Regions from separate parts of the Homo sapiens genome. Here region 1 is linked to region 2. The links are contacts of gene promoters, found by promoter capture Hi-C in blood cells and fetal thymus (Javierre and others, 2016). All regions are on one chromosome and are shown on one strand. The core of a region is centred on a gene start or on the middle of the fragment in contact, and the rest is flanking DNA. Distances in the headings are between cores, read along the strand shown. Region 1 has its middle 39 kb from the start of MIR4508. Region 2 holds the start of MKRN3 (makorin ring finger protein 3).

Region 1 (6,851 bases), core at 1,627-4,126, 42 kb after region 2:
CCTAAAAGCAGGAAGCTGGAAATTTTTCCCCTAAGCTAGCTTTGGAATACAAAGTCACTTTCTTTATACCAAACTTCACTCTTATCAGTTGGGCTCTGCAAGTGGTGAGTGACTGAACCAGCATTTTGATTACACTGTAAAGAAATACCTGAGGCTGAGTAATTTACAAAGAAAATGAGGTTTATTTTGTCTCGCAGTTCTGCAGGCTGTACAGGAAACATGGTGCTGGCATCTGCTTCAGGTGAGGGTCTTAGGAAGCTTACAATCATGACAGAAGGTGAGGGAGAGCCAGCACGTCACACAGTGAGAGAGGCAGCAAGAGAGAGAAGAGGAACTCCCAGACTCTTGTAAACAACCAGATCTTGTGTGAAGTAACTGAGAAGGAACTCACTCATCATCAAGAGTATGATGCTAAGCCATTCATAAGGGATCCAATCCCATGACCCAAATGCCCCCCACTAGGCCCACCTCTAACATTGGTGGTCACATTTCAGCATGATATTTGGAGGGAACACAAATCCAAACCATACCAAGAGGTTGGGGAAGGATTCTAATACAACTACACAATTCTTCCCCATATCTCCTCAGTTGTCTTTTTTCCTACCTGATGCAGTGATTCCAAGACCAGGGGTGCAACTGCAGGTACTGGAAGCAGGCTGATTCCTAAGCAAGAAACTATACCTATACCTTTAAACTTTAGGCCAGAATTTCCAAAAGCCTGAAGGATGGACTGGCACAGTTGGGGTTGACAGTGAATGCTACCATGTTTCCTAGTGGTTAGAATAGCTCGTATTTTTATCTCTATGTAACCTCAGCCTGTATCAGTGGGACTGAGCTGAGAGCAAGGCACTTGGTAGAATAGTATTGCTAGCAGTACTGTAGACCAAGACAGTGGTTGAGCACATTATCCCTCTAAAAGGTGGAGAGTTTGAGTAAAAATAAATGTCAAATGGAGAGAAGGAGAAATAATAGCTGAGGGTAAAAGACTAAATAAGTGGATTATGCAATGAGAGAAGCCTAATGTTGTATTAATACCTCAAGAGAGGCTCAGAGCAAGAGAATGATATTATCTCCTAGCACAATTATACCAGATGCCCAGAAGGGTGAAGCAATGTGTTTTCCAAGACCACCCCTGCTTTTGAAACCTGACAAAGTTGAATGGCAGCCTGCAAACCTGAGTGGCATCCCTCTAGGAAACATTCTGGTCACACTGTGTGATGAAATGGACTGACTGTTAATGACTAATTGGGCTTGAAATTGAGTTAATAATTGATCATCCCTATGTGATGATGCATCCAGCAAAAAAAAAAAAAAAATAGAAAAATCCCTAACGTATGGGGCTTGGGGAGCTTCCGGGCTAATGAATAGAAACATTTCCACGTGTCAGGAGAGTGGCACACCCCAATTCCATGAGGCCAGAAGCTCCTGCATTTGGGACCTTTCTAGACCTCACCCTATGTATCTCTTTATGTGGCTATTCATCTGTATCTTTTGAAATGCCCTTTGTAATAAGTTAGCAATAATAAGTAAACTGTTTTCCTAGCTTTTGTGAGTTTGCTAGAGAATTTCGTGGTGTATGGGGAGAGATCCCCACATATCTGATATCAGAAGTTATCTGTGTTGAGGATATAGTAGTAGAAAACAGTTTTGTTTTGTTTTGTTTTGTTTTTGGAGATGGAGTCTTGCTCTGTCGCCCAGGCTGGAGTGCAGTGGTGCGATCTTGGCTCACTGCAAGCTCCACCTCCCGGTTTCACTCCATTCTCCTGCTTCAGCCTCCCAAGTACCTGGTACTACAGGCACCCGCCACAACGCCCGGCTAATTTTTTGTATTTTTAGTAGAGATGGGGTTTCACCGTGTTAGCCAGGGTGGTCTCGATCCCCTGACCTCATGATCCACCCGCCTCGGCCTCCCAAAGGGCTGGGATTACAGTGATGAGCCACCGTGCCCAGGCAGAACACAATTTTTTAAAAAAAGATTGTACAATCCAAATGGAACAAACTTGCTTCTTATGCATTTCCTGTCAATAATGTCAAAATTGATAACTCTTTTTGTAAAAATCTATGAAACTTATTAGAAAGGATAAAGAATAAAAACTACAGTAACCACAGATATAAAAATGTAAATTGTAATATTCATTCATGAAAATGCAATATTCATTCATATTCAACATGAAATTTGCCTAAGTACACTAATAAATGCAATTTCAAACCTAAAGCTAAAATGCAACTTTAACACCTAAAAGCTTATATTCCAAAAGGCCTTGCTTGCTATCTTGCAGTCCCTATGTAGCCTCTCAATCTCTCAATTACTTTTTTGCAACGAATGAAAAATTGGTAGAAGTCTATGGTCTCTAGAAGCTATAGTTGATGCGGGGCTGAAATGCCTTAAGGAGATACTTTGTTTAATCTTGGACAATAAAGGCAGGTGTTTATCTTGCATCATAGTTCAGCCATATTCTGTAGTTCAAGCTATGTGTCTAAAAGGCATCATTCATTTTTGATATTTGACTTCTGACAGCTTTCAAGTTCCATAGCTCACGCTTCCATTTCTACCTCACATATAGACAATATGATAAGAAAATGTGGGTACTCCATCCTTTGGTGCAGGAGCAGGAAATTAAAACCATGCAATGGAATGCTCATCCCAGCCACACTCCTAACTACCTTCAAAACCACAAGTCCATTTTCTTTTTTCATTCTCTTAAGCCATTTTTGGACCTGCTTTGGAGCTGCCTTGCTTTCCCCGGAAATCTTCATTATGTGAGCAGTAAACATATTTATACCCTCTTGAGTTGTGTGTGAGTCTTATCAATTCGGATATCTAAACCCAGTTTTGGGTGAGAGGTTCATCCTGTGTCATCGAGTTAGCTAGGACAGAATATCTATGTTATATAGTGGGGTTTTCATTTGTTTGATTGTTTTTAATCTTCACTCAATTTTGAGGTTCTTGCTAGAGGCTGGTCAGTTCCTCTTCTTAAACAGCTCAGTAAGTCCGTACCCCAACCACTTTCCTTATTAGAATCTCACCCTCTGGGCCATCATGCATCAGCCTTAAGTGCACCGGATTCAGGTACCAGACATCTAGGGACAGCTCCTATACCCTGGGGCCTAAAAGAGTATTCAAATTAGACAATCCATGAGGAGTTCACAAAACCTAGCTAACCCCACCCTATTTGCCATATGTAAGTTTCCCCCTACAGTTCCATGTTGCTATTACCTTACCCTGTCTTCTGATGCAATCCCCTGTTTCACCCTACCTGGCAATCTCCTCTCCTTTGGAGCTGTATATAACAAAAACTTCTACTTCTCTTCTATTTGAGTGTTATTGTGTTGTGTCCTGCCATCAAAATAATTGTTTAATCTTAAAAAGCAGTTGGCATCTCAAACAGGATGGCCATGACCACGGAATCTTGCATGGCTGCAGGGAGGGACTTCACTTGGCTTGTGAATCAATTCCAGTCCACCATAAAAGAGGCTTGGTACAGAACTTCCACCTATGGCAAGCTTGTGCTTTAGCCTTGTTGCTTGTTTCTGTGCTTTCTGGTGTTTGCCACATTGTTCTTTGCCCAAGTTTTCTAGTTGTTACAATATTAATAATGAACTTTACTAATTGGTTAAACTTTGGGGGCTAGATACCGGCTCAGTTGGTGACGCACCCTAGGGCAATCAGAATGACAGGCTGGGTGTGGTGGCTTACGCCTGTAATCCCAGAACTTTGGGAGGCTGAGCTGGGCAGATCACGAGGTCAGGAGATCGAGACCATCCTGGATAACACGGTGAAACCCCACCTCTACAAAAAATACAAAAAATTAGCCGGGCATGGTGGCGGGTGACTGTAGTCCCAGCTACTCGGGAGGCTGAGGCAGGAGAATGGCGTGAACCCAGGAGGCGGAGCTTGCAGTGAGCCCAGATCGCACCTCTCTGCACTCCAGCCTGGGCAACAGAGCAAGACTCTGTCTAAAAAAAAAAATGACAGGCCACTGAAGCCACAGTTTCCAGGGCTGGGCATTCTGGTATGTTTCTGGTCACAGCCTGTGTTTGGCAAAGACCTATTTCAGGGGTCAGTATTTCTTAGTTATTTATATGGATTAAATGTGTCCTCTAAAAAACAATGTGAAGGAAGCTTAATTCTAAATGCAAAAGTTTTGGGAAGTGGGGCTTAATGGGAAGTGTTTAGGTCATAAGGGTTCCACCCTTATGAATGGGTTAATGTGGATTATAAAAGAGCTTGAGGCTATGAGTTTGATCTCTCTCACCATGTGATACCTTTCTTTATGTTATGATTCAGCCAGAAGGCCCTTACCAGATGCCAGCCCCCTGAACTTTCTGGCCTCCAGAACTATGAATCAAACAAATTTCAATTGTTTATAAATCACTCAGTTTGTAGTATTCTGACATAGCAGCACAAAATGGAATAAGACAAAAATTTCATACCAATAAATGGGAGTGTTGATATAACAAACACCTGAAAATGTGGAAGTGGCTTTGGAACTGCATAATGGGCAGAGGCTGAAAGAATTTGGAGAAATAGGCTAGAAAAAGACTGTATCACTGTGAACAGAGCATTAGGGACCCATTCTGTTGAGGGCTCAGAAAAAGAGAACTGCAGGGAAAATCTGGAATTTTTTGTTTTGTTTTTTTTTTTTTTTTGAGACAGAGTCTCACTCTGTCACCCAGGCTGGAGTGCAGTGGTACGATCTGGGCTCACTGCAACCGCTGCCTCCCAGGTTCCAGGGATTCTCCTGCCTCAGCATCCCAAGTAGCTGGATCACAGGCACATGCCACCACAACTGGCGACTTTTTTATTATTAGTGGAGATGGGGTTTCACCACATTGGCCAGGCTGGTCTCAAACTCCTGACCTCAGGTGATCTGCCCACCTTGGCCTCACAAAGTGCTGGGATTACAGGCATGGGCCACTGCGCCCAGCCAAAATCTAGAATTTCTTAGGTATCACTTAAGTGGTAATAATTAGAATGCTGGTCAAAATATAAACAGTAAAAGCTATTCTGACAAAATACTAGATGGAACTGAGGAACAAGGCATTGGAAGCTGGAGTTAAAGGCCATTCTTGTTAAATGGTTGCAAAGAACTTGTCATAATTTTGTTCATGTCCTAGGACTTTCTGGAAGGCAGAACTTTAGAGCAATAGGATTTCTGGCAAGGTAGGACCTTGAGGGCTACATTTTCAAAAAGAGGCATATACAAGATCTCAGAACTGGCTACCCCGGGCTACCTCAAGACTCTGTTCCCCACATTCTGGGGCAGCACTCTTTGGTCACCCCAGCCTTGGCTCAAGTGGGCTCAAGTGCTGCTTAACTTACTGCTTCCGAAAGTAGAAGCAGTAAACTCTGCAGCGTGCACATGGTGCTAATTCTAGAGGTGTGCAGCGTGCACATGGTGCTAATTCTAGAGGTGTGCAGCGTGCACATGGTGCTAATTCTAGAGGTGTGCAGCGTGCACATGGTGCTAATTCTAGAGGTGTGCAGCGTGCACATGGTGCTAATTCTAGAGGTGTGCAGCGTGCACATGGTGCTAATTCTAGAGGTGTGCAGCGTGCAAGAGCTGTGGCTCCCTGGTAGCCTCCAGGTCCTACCTTGCCTCTAAGATTCTTCTGAACTACCTTCAAGTTCATTTTCCAATTGCTTGATGACTAGAACCTGGCTTTCTTTTATCCATATTAATCTCTTTAGAAAATGGTCACTTTGCCACACCATTAGCATTCTCTCCTGAACGTATTTCTTTATTCTTTACATGGCCAAGCTTAGGGTTTTCTACATCTTTCCGTTCTGATTCCATTTGAATTATAAATTCTGTCTTTAAATAATTTCTCCCTTCTCTCATTTTACTCTAAGAGGAAAAAAAAAAAAAACCATGCCACACTTTGCTTGACCAGTAGATTTCAAAGGATGCTATGGAAAATCTAGGGGCAGAAACATGGGGCAAAGCCACCACAGAAAGTCTCCATTAGGGCAATGCCTAGGGTAGCCACAGGGGTTGGGGTGCCACTGAGACCCCAGAACTGTTGAACTACCAGTGTGCCATGCCAACCTGGAAGAGACACAGGAATTGAGACAGAGCAGGGATGGGGTTTGGCTTCAGCTCATCCCCGCTAGAGCATTGTTTCATGCATTCTCACTGATCACAAAACCCATACCACTACCTCATTGATTCCATATCTGCGAATAGTCCTTTTACTTCATTCCAGGAACTGGCCTTAGGAGATCAGAAATACTGAACCAAGGTTGCTGAGTGTCCCACCTTGGGAAGGAATGTTGAACAACTGATTTACAGCCTTGCTGCTGTTGACTAGACCACCTGGTGGCCCATTACTCAAGACAACCATCGCAACCAGATATGCTGACCTGTGTACCCTACTCCTCACGTGCTGTGCCCAACCCAGCCTCCATACCCTACCCCTGATGTCAATTCCCATGCTTTGCCTACTAAAAATTCTATACTGGCTCTTTTTGGAGGGCCAGCTAAAGAATCCTTGCACCTCCACTGTCTCCCTTGCACTGGAATACAAGCCCAGAAATAAAAACCTTGTCTGGGAAATCTGCTTGGCCCCATGTTAATTTCCATTATATGGGTCTGTAACAGATTCTCTGGTGACTGCAGTAGGCCATGGGATGTGGGGAGAATTTTCCTCCCTGGAGAGGGAGGTTCATGAGCCAGTGGGATGCCCAGACATGACCCCTTCACAGCTGAAGAGCGGCTGCCTGGATCTTTGATTCAACGTTGAGGCAACTGGTGAGTTTTTCTCCAGCTTCCTGAAGTCTCCTTTCCAACCTTGCAGACAACACTTTCCCTCCCCTCCTGTCCCCGATTTGTTGTGTCTTTTTCCTTCTT
Region 2 (7,256 bases), core at 1,015-3,514:
TAACTCTTATACATATATATTTTTATATATATAATTCTTAAATATATATTTCCAAATATAAATTATTTCATGTCAAGCTAAACAGGATAAAAACATGTAAACATATACACTTGGTTTTGGTCAAGTAAAACACAAAATCACAAGTTCATCACAGTTTAACAAGTGCACTTGAAGGGGAAGGAGGGAAAGAACAAACTGTAAACAAACAGATGAGCAGCTGCAAAGCCCTGCAAGGGTCCATTTGTTAAGGCTATTATAGCACAAAGCTACTAGTTCAATTAAAACTTCTCCTTTCACTCTGCCACATTTACTCTTGAGGGTCTTCAAAATAAGTGTGGAAATTCAGTAAACACTACACTAGAACTGAGTTAATCCTGTTGACAACAGAGATGACAAAAAAAAGCCATAAGCTGACATTAATATTAATTTCACCAAAACAGTAACTTTAAGGACTTATTTTTTAACACAGATAATCACCATAATCCTAGGGGGAAAGATATGCAGAATAGACAAGAAAACAGAAGCACTGCCTCAACAGCCCCTGAAAGCAGTAAGAGTGTCAACACAGGGAAAACAGGCAATAGCAGACGACAGAACCTCAGCAGACTAGACCACATGCCACAGCACGATGCTACAGAATCAAATTGAAATATTCTTCCAGCTCATAATGAAGCAAGTCCCACTGGTCCTCAGAGAAGGGTAACTCATCTCTCAGTGAAAGAAACCGCTTAAACAACAGACTGGCCAGCCGAAGCACGACAAGCTCCTTCTTAATGCTTTTATAGAGCATGTTGCCCTCTCCCATTCGCACAGGCTCCACAAGTTGATGCCAGTATGCGCTGAATGACCCACCACCTGGCCCAGGAGGCTCATCTCCCCAGCCCTCAGGGTATTCATGCTTGTAAAAGCATGTGTCTCCAAATGGGCAGTTACCCCTGCCTTCCGCAAAATACCTGCAGGCCTTGTTGCTCATTGCCTCCTTGTATTGCTGAATAAGTTTCTGCTTCTCTTCCTCCTCCTCCACCCAGAACTCACTGGGAATGACCAATTCAGAGGTGACCCTGCACTGTGGGCAAGACTTGACGATCCTGTTCTCAAACTGTCTGGCACTTCTCCACCTGCGGATACACCTAATACAGAAGGAATGGTTGCAATTGGAAAGAATGCCAAAGCGGCGGTCATTGGGGTTGGCCTTCTCATAGACAACCTCCATGCAGATGCCACACACCTTGTCCATACCACGCTGCACAGCAAACGAGAGTTCCATATCTTTCTCGTGTGCTTCAATGCAGGCCCTCATATGTTCTTCCCTCTGGGCAGCATCCATGGGGTGCAAGGTCTGCAGCCCACACATGTCGCATATGTCTCCATGGAGGTACATACAGCTCTCCCCACGAAAGCAAACTCCCCTGGAAGCATAATAGCAAAACCGCAACCCACTGCCCACAGCCATCTGCTTCCTCTCAGTCTCTGAGCTCTGTAGAGGAGCCTCGGGGGCAGATGCAACCCAGCGGCCCCGGTAGGGCTGCCCTGGAACAAACTCAATGGCATCCGCCCAGCTTTCTACACCTGCTCCTCCAGCAGCTCCACGGTCTGCATTGTCTCTCTCGGCTTCAAAGAAACCCCTTTCAGCAGCCGAGCCAATCACAGGCAAGGAAAGGGAGGATGCAGCCGGGGGGGCTTCCGCCACTTCCTGAGTCGGGGGCTCGATGTGCGCAGCCGTGCTAGGGCCTCCACCTGCAGAGGCCCCAGGCGGCGAAACGCCACCCTCAGTGGCCATCTTCCGACCAGAAAGGTCGTGCGAATAGCGACAGTTCTCCCCCTCCTTGCACTGCCCATGTATATAATACCTGCAGATGATCTGCTTTGTCCAAATGCCGCTGCTTCGGCTTGGCAACGGACTGGGCCAGGCTCCTCCTCCTGAGGCTGGGGCAGGCCTCAGGCCTCCTCTGCGGAGGTGGGCAGGGACTGGAGCTACAGGGAAGGGGGCCCAGCCCCTTGCCGCATGTGGCAGGGCTGAATCTGGAGCAGCAGATTCCCCGGAGGGCTCACAGACGGGAAGGTCCGGCCCAGACACACCCTCCCTTGCTGCCTCAGCACCTGCCTGGGCCCCGGCTGCCTCGTGGGCTTCTGAGGGAGCTGCAGGCTCTTCCATGGCTGCTTTGGCACCCCGAAATGGTGCCAGAACCTCTCCGGTATTTTTTCTTTATGGGCTTGAGGCCCGGAATGGCGGCCGCGCTCGGAGGCTTCTCTGGGGGAAGTGTGCATCTCTTTTTCCTTCCCCCCTGCTTTTGGGTCCCTCTGACTGTGTGTTCCTACCTACTTCCGGGCACAGGCAGCATGGCGGACACTTCCTGTGGGGGCAACGTACGTGCTCTGCCTGGTTTTTACCGCAATTTTCCAATCTGACATATTTTTTCGTTCACACAGGCGGGGACCAACCCAGCCCCTTTTGTCTGCCTTCTGCCTCTGCTTCGCTGTGTTCCGGCAGTCCCTAAGTCCCTTCTCACACGATTTCCTCAGGAGAATGAGGTTTTACTTTAATCTCTTCTGGTTTCGGTCATGCACGCTTCGTTGTATTTTCGTATCTGTCTGCCTTAAAAAAAATATAATCCTATAGATTCTGAAACATTTCATCCATGAATTATATAAATTCTTTTTTTATTCACTCCATCTTATGTCTGTGGTTTTTTTCTTTTAATGCCCGATCGCGGCAGGAAGCTTTTTTCAATTCGTTCGGTTGACAAGGCGCCGTTTCTTTTGGTCTTTGTTTTCTGGGATTTCTGAGGGCTTACACTGGATACGCTTTTCACCAGCAAGGCATTAGCAGAGAGCACTTCTGATCCGAGGCTAAGTTAGCACCTTTCAGATGTCTTTCTTTATTGTGATTACTATGCTCATTTTCCCACTGTGTTAGAAGCGCCAGACTTCAACCAGTCCTGATGCTGGCCTAATAAGACACTGTCCCCTGCATGACCCAGGCTTTTATTTTCTCTACTGGTTTAATTCATGGCAGCCCTTTGTTTCCCTTCCTTTCTTTCAACCCCATCTGTGCTGTGTTGTGGCAGGACAGCCTTTCATAACATATCCTGTGCCATATTATCCACAAAGGAATGGTCTTTAATTTCCATGTATGAGCGTTTTGTCATTTTTGCAGATAAATGTAGTAGATTAATCATTTTTTTGTATTCCTACTTTGCTGAGAGTACGTATCATGACTGCATACTGAATTCTGTTATGTAGTTTTATACATTTTTTGAGACAATTTTGTTTTTCCCTTTATTCTCTTAATGTGATTATTTGCAGCTATGAGTTTCAAATATTTAACTAACCAATTTGTTTCTAATAAGAAGCCCTTCTGTCATGATATATCATTTTATATATTATTGGATTTTTTTTCTATAAGTTTCTTTGAGGAAATTTTGTTGCCTAAATCTGTAAAGTGGAAACATATCTGAATATTTATAATCACCCAAGTCAACAAATTAAATTATAATTAAGTAGGTAAAAGCAATGAAAGCAGAATGAAGCAAATAATAAGGGCAAGAAAAGCAATGAAGAAAAACAAATATTAAATAAGGGAAATAAATTAAGTAAAATCCCTTAAACTGCTTATTGAAGCCAGATAATTTCTGGTGAAATTTATCAAGGAAAAATGAAGAAGGCTCTAATACCCAAGATCAGTAATTTCAAATATGTTATCACTACATTAATAACAGACATTAAAAATCATTAGAGAATATCAGGAACAAAGTTAGGAGATAAAACTTGAAAAGTTACATGAAATAGTCATATTGGTGGAAACATCTATTAGTAAAAATGACAGGAGCAGAAATACATGTGAATATGGATCTGTTAAATTACATCTGTAATTTAGATAATTATCTAAATAAAGGTCTCTAAAACTTTCTCTCTGAAATAAATCTAAAGGCAAAAAAAATCTGTATTTATTATTGCAAGTCCTAGCTAGTGTAATAGCAAAGAAATAAAAGATGTTATAACTGGAAAGAAATTATTGATGGAATGCAACAGAAAATTGAGAATAATTTACAGATAAGCTATTAGATTTAATAGGTACATTTAGCAAGGACACTGGACAGGAGTCCAATATATGAAAATCATTTTTATTTCTCTATCATCAATAACATTTGAAGTAAACATTTAAAATTAATAACATTCATAACAACATTAAAAGTTAGCTAACCTAGGAATTAAACTAATTAAGGTTATACAATAAAATTAAAAACATTTTAGCTTCAGAAGACCTAAATAAATTGTGGGATACTTTATATATAGTCTTTATAGTCGGTCAGTAGAAGGCTCAATGTTTTTAAAAGGTAGTCTTTTCCTAATTTGATAATTATTTGAAAATGGTGCTGATTATTCATCGTGAATGTAGGAAATGTTGGATTTATCTTTCTCCTTTTCATAGTTACCAAGTTTTATATTTTGCATGCAAGCTGTCCCAAAGTCTGCCTCACTTGAACTTTCTGAAACAAACTTTCTCTTTATCAGGATTTGTTTGTCAGCCCCAGTGATTTTTACAAGAAAAAGACTTGCAGCACAGCTCTCAGGCTTCTACGCCAAGCTCTCTACAAATTCACAAACATAAGAATCCTGAATATAAAATTATTACTGGCTTAATTGTGATATTTTCCTAGCACTGCATCTATTATTTGCTTAATTGTGATATTTTCCCAGCACTGTATCTAAATCATATTTGACCCTCTCTTGATGCACCAGCACTGTCCAGAGGAACTTTCTGTGAAGAATTTATATATATGCATGCTGTACAGTATGAAAGCTAGCCCCATGGGGTTCTTGGGCACTTGAAATGAGGCTAGAGTGACGGAGGAAATGAATGTCCATTTTTTAAATTATAAATTTAAATAGCCACATGAGGCTAGTAGTTACTGCATTGGAGTGAAGTTCTATACAATATTTGACCATCTCATCTCCTAACACAAGGGAACTGAGAAGCATATGTTTCCTCACCTGCCCAAGGCTATGCAGCTGGTGCCAGGCAGTGTTTGCTTCCAAATGCCCACCTGTGTGGCTGCCACTGGTGTTCATGTCTTATAGTCTGATAGTGACTTTATCTTTTAGTTTTGTCGTGACAATATTTCATATAAACTGTTATAAGCCAATATTGTATCCCATGATTTTAAATACCATAAAAAATTGAATAACTGGAAATAACTGGGCAGTGCATCTTGAGAAAAATAAACTAGTTCCCATCCTATCCAAATGTCTTCAGAGATCATTTCCTCTGACTGCCATTGTCTATATTCCTGCCATGATATATACATATGTATATTTTTTGAGCATCAATATTGTTTTTACAGTTCTCAGAAAGTAGACATTTAGTCATTTGTCTAGTTATTTGGCTCAGCTGTGCCTTCTTTTCTAACAAAACACTGACAGCCTCAGAGGCTGGGACCTGGTTTCCTTGTGCACACACCAGTCTGCAGGGTAGCATGGGATCCCCTGGCCGGTCAGCATTTGGGGGTCCGAATGGAATGAGTGCAAGGCTGGGCGATGGCAGAGCTGAGGTGAAGTCCGGGCAGTCTAAGAATATCCTAAGAGGAGGGAGCAAGTTCAGAAGTGAACTGCAGGATGGAGAGAAGCTGCAAAGTCCTGCAGTTTTTTACTCCAAACAGCTCAGGCATGCGCTGCCTAGCCCCGTGTGGTTAACATGTCCGTATTTAAAGAACACACAATTAATTGCCTAAAAGCATTATCCTTCTCAGCACTCTCCTATCCTTCAGATCTAACCTTTAGGCACTGCCGGCTGCCGGCGGGGTCCAGGACCCAGCGGGGCTGGGCGCGCGGAGCAGCGCTGGGTGCAGCGCCTGCGCCGGCAGCTGCAAGGGCCGCAGAAATTAAACGCGAGTGTCCAGAATCGGGCATTGTGGGTTTAAATCCTGAATCCACTGGTCACTATCTGAGACTTTCCCCTGTCACAAATTAGTTACCTTCTTTTATCCCATCTGACAACGGGAATAATAACAGCAAGAATTACACCGACTAGTTCACAGGTTTGCTGTATTAATTAATTTATAATAATTCATTAATTCTTATAAAGTGATTGGAACGATGCCTGATCTTTAAGATACCTGTAAGTGTCTCTTCTATTTTAGAACCACCCAAAGAATCCTGTGACTGAAGTCTTTGTGTCAGTCCCTCTATGTGCACAGCAGTCAGATTTCTATAGGGGCCCTAGAAATTACTGGCACATGAGAGGTGGTGAATGAGTATTTATTGCCTTATATTGATAGACAAACTGATTTTTATTTTGAAATTTAAAGAGCCAGTTTTCTCCAACCCTTAGTTCAGAAGTTTAGTTGTAGAATACCTTTGTGGAGGATTTCTTGTGCTTTCATCACTTGTGGTAGCAGTAGGATTCTGGCTGGAACAGCACTCCTTTAGCTCATTGTTGGCTGTTTTGAATAGACATCTGATCACCCTGAGTGAATAACTGGATAACAAAAAGTTACTTTAAAATGGCTTTAAATTTCAATATGAATATGAAAAAGAGGTGTAAGTACTCCTACAACCACTTAAAGATCATAAAAGATACTGCTTATACTGATTTTTCTATATTGTAATCAAACACTGAAATTTTCAAGAAATCTTCTGTCTACAGATGTCAAAAATTCAACTACATTTCAACTTTAAGGTGGTTAACAGAATTTTGTCATACTGCTGTATTTTATACATACAAAACATGCTTAATGTCCAATTTGTAGTCAGATGAAATAACTTATCTCAAGCTAGTATTTTTATCCGGAACAAGGATAGAAACTGGTTACTATACATGAAGTAAATGCTTAAAAGACAGGAAATAGTTAATGTGGTGAGTGCTCAGGGGAAAAAAAAAGATGGCCTTAAGTAACCTAAATAACCTGTGGGTGGTAGAAGCAATCACAAAGAAAACTGGAAAATATTTTCAACTGAACAGTAATGAGTGTATAACATGTTAAAAGACTTAGGTTGCACTTAAAGTCATGCTTAGAGGCAAAATTTAATGCATTCTTAAATTCTTAAATGCATTCGCAAGAAAGGAAAAAGGCCCATTTCCAAAAAGGGGAAAAATGTCAAAATGAAGACAGGGCATGGGAAGAATGTCAAATGAAAATGATGGAGTCCTATTTTCTCCTTCCTCTTCAGGAAAAGGTCCAGTGAGGTGCATCCTCATAAACCATGTGCCATTCGTACACTTAGATCTGCATGCTGAGGCCACTGGGAAAAAGGAC

What was found. Contacts are between HindIII fragments. The CHiCAGO score rates a contact against its expected background, and 5 or more counts as called.
Region 1: a fragment that was not itself captured here is called in contact with the fragment with the promoter of MKRN3 in region 2 in 1 of 17 cell types (neutrophils); the score reaches 7.9 in neutrophils.

The regions. Positions count from the first base shown.
Region 1 is chr15:23,519,432-23,526,282 of GRCh38, reverse strand. No RefSeq gene overlaps it. Among named protein-coding and RNA genes, the nearest start is that of MIR4508, 39 kb to the left of the region's middle. The HindIII fragment of the contact is 1,261 bases long and covers 2,246-3,506 here.
Region 2 is chr15:23,560,682-23,567,937 of GRCh38, reverse strand. MKRN3 (makorin ring finger protein 3) reads right to left here and starts at 2,264. Exons shown (of 1, transcript NM_005664.4): 1 at 1-2,264. The coding sequence starts at 2,155. The coding sequence ends at 632. It overlaps MIR4508 (microRNA 4508), which reads left to right and starts at 5,807; the gene lies at 5,807-5,876. The HindIII fragment of the contact is 4,614 bases long and covers 1-2,723 here.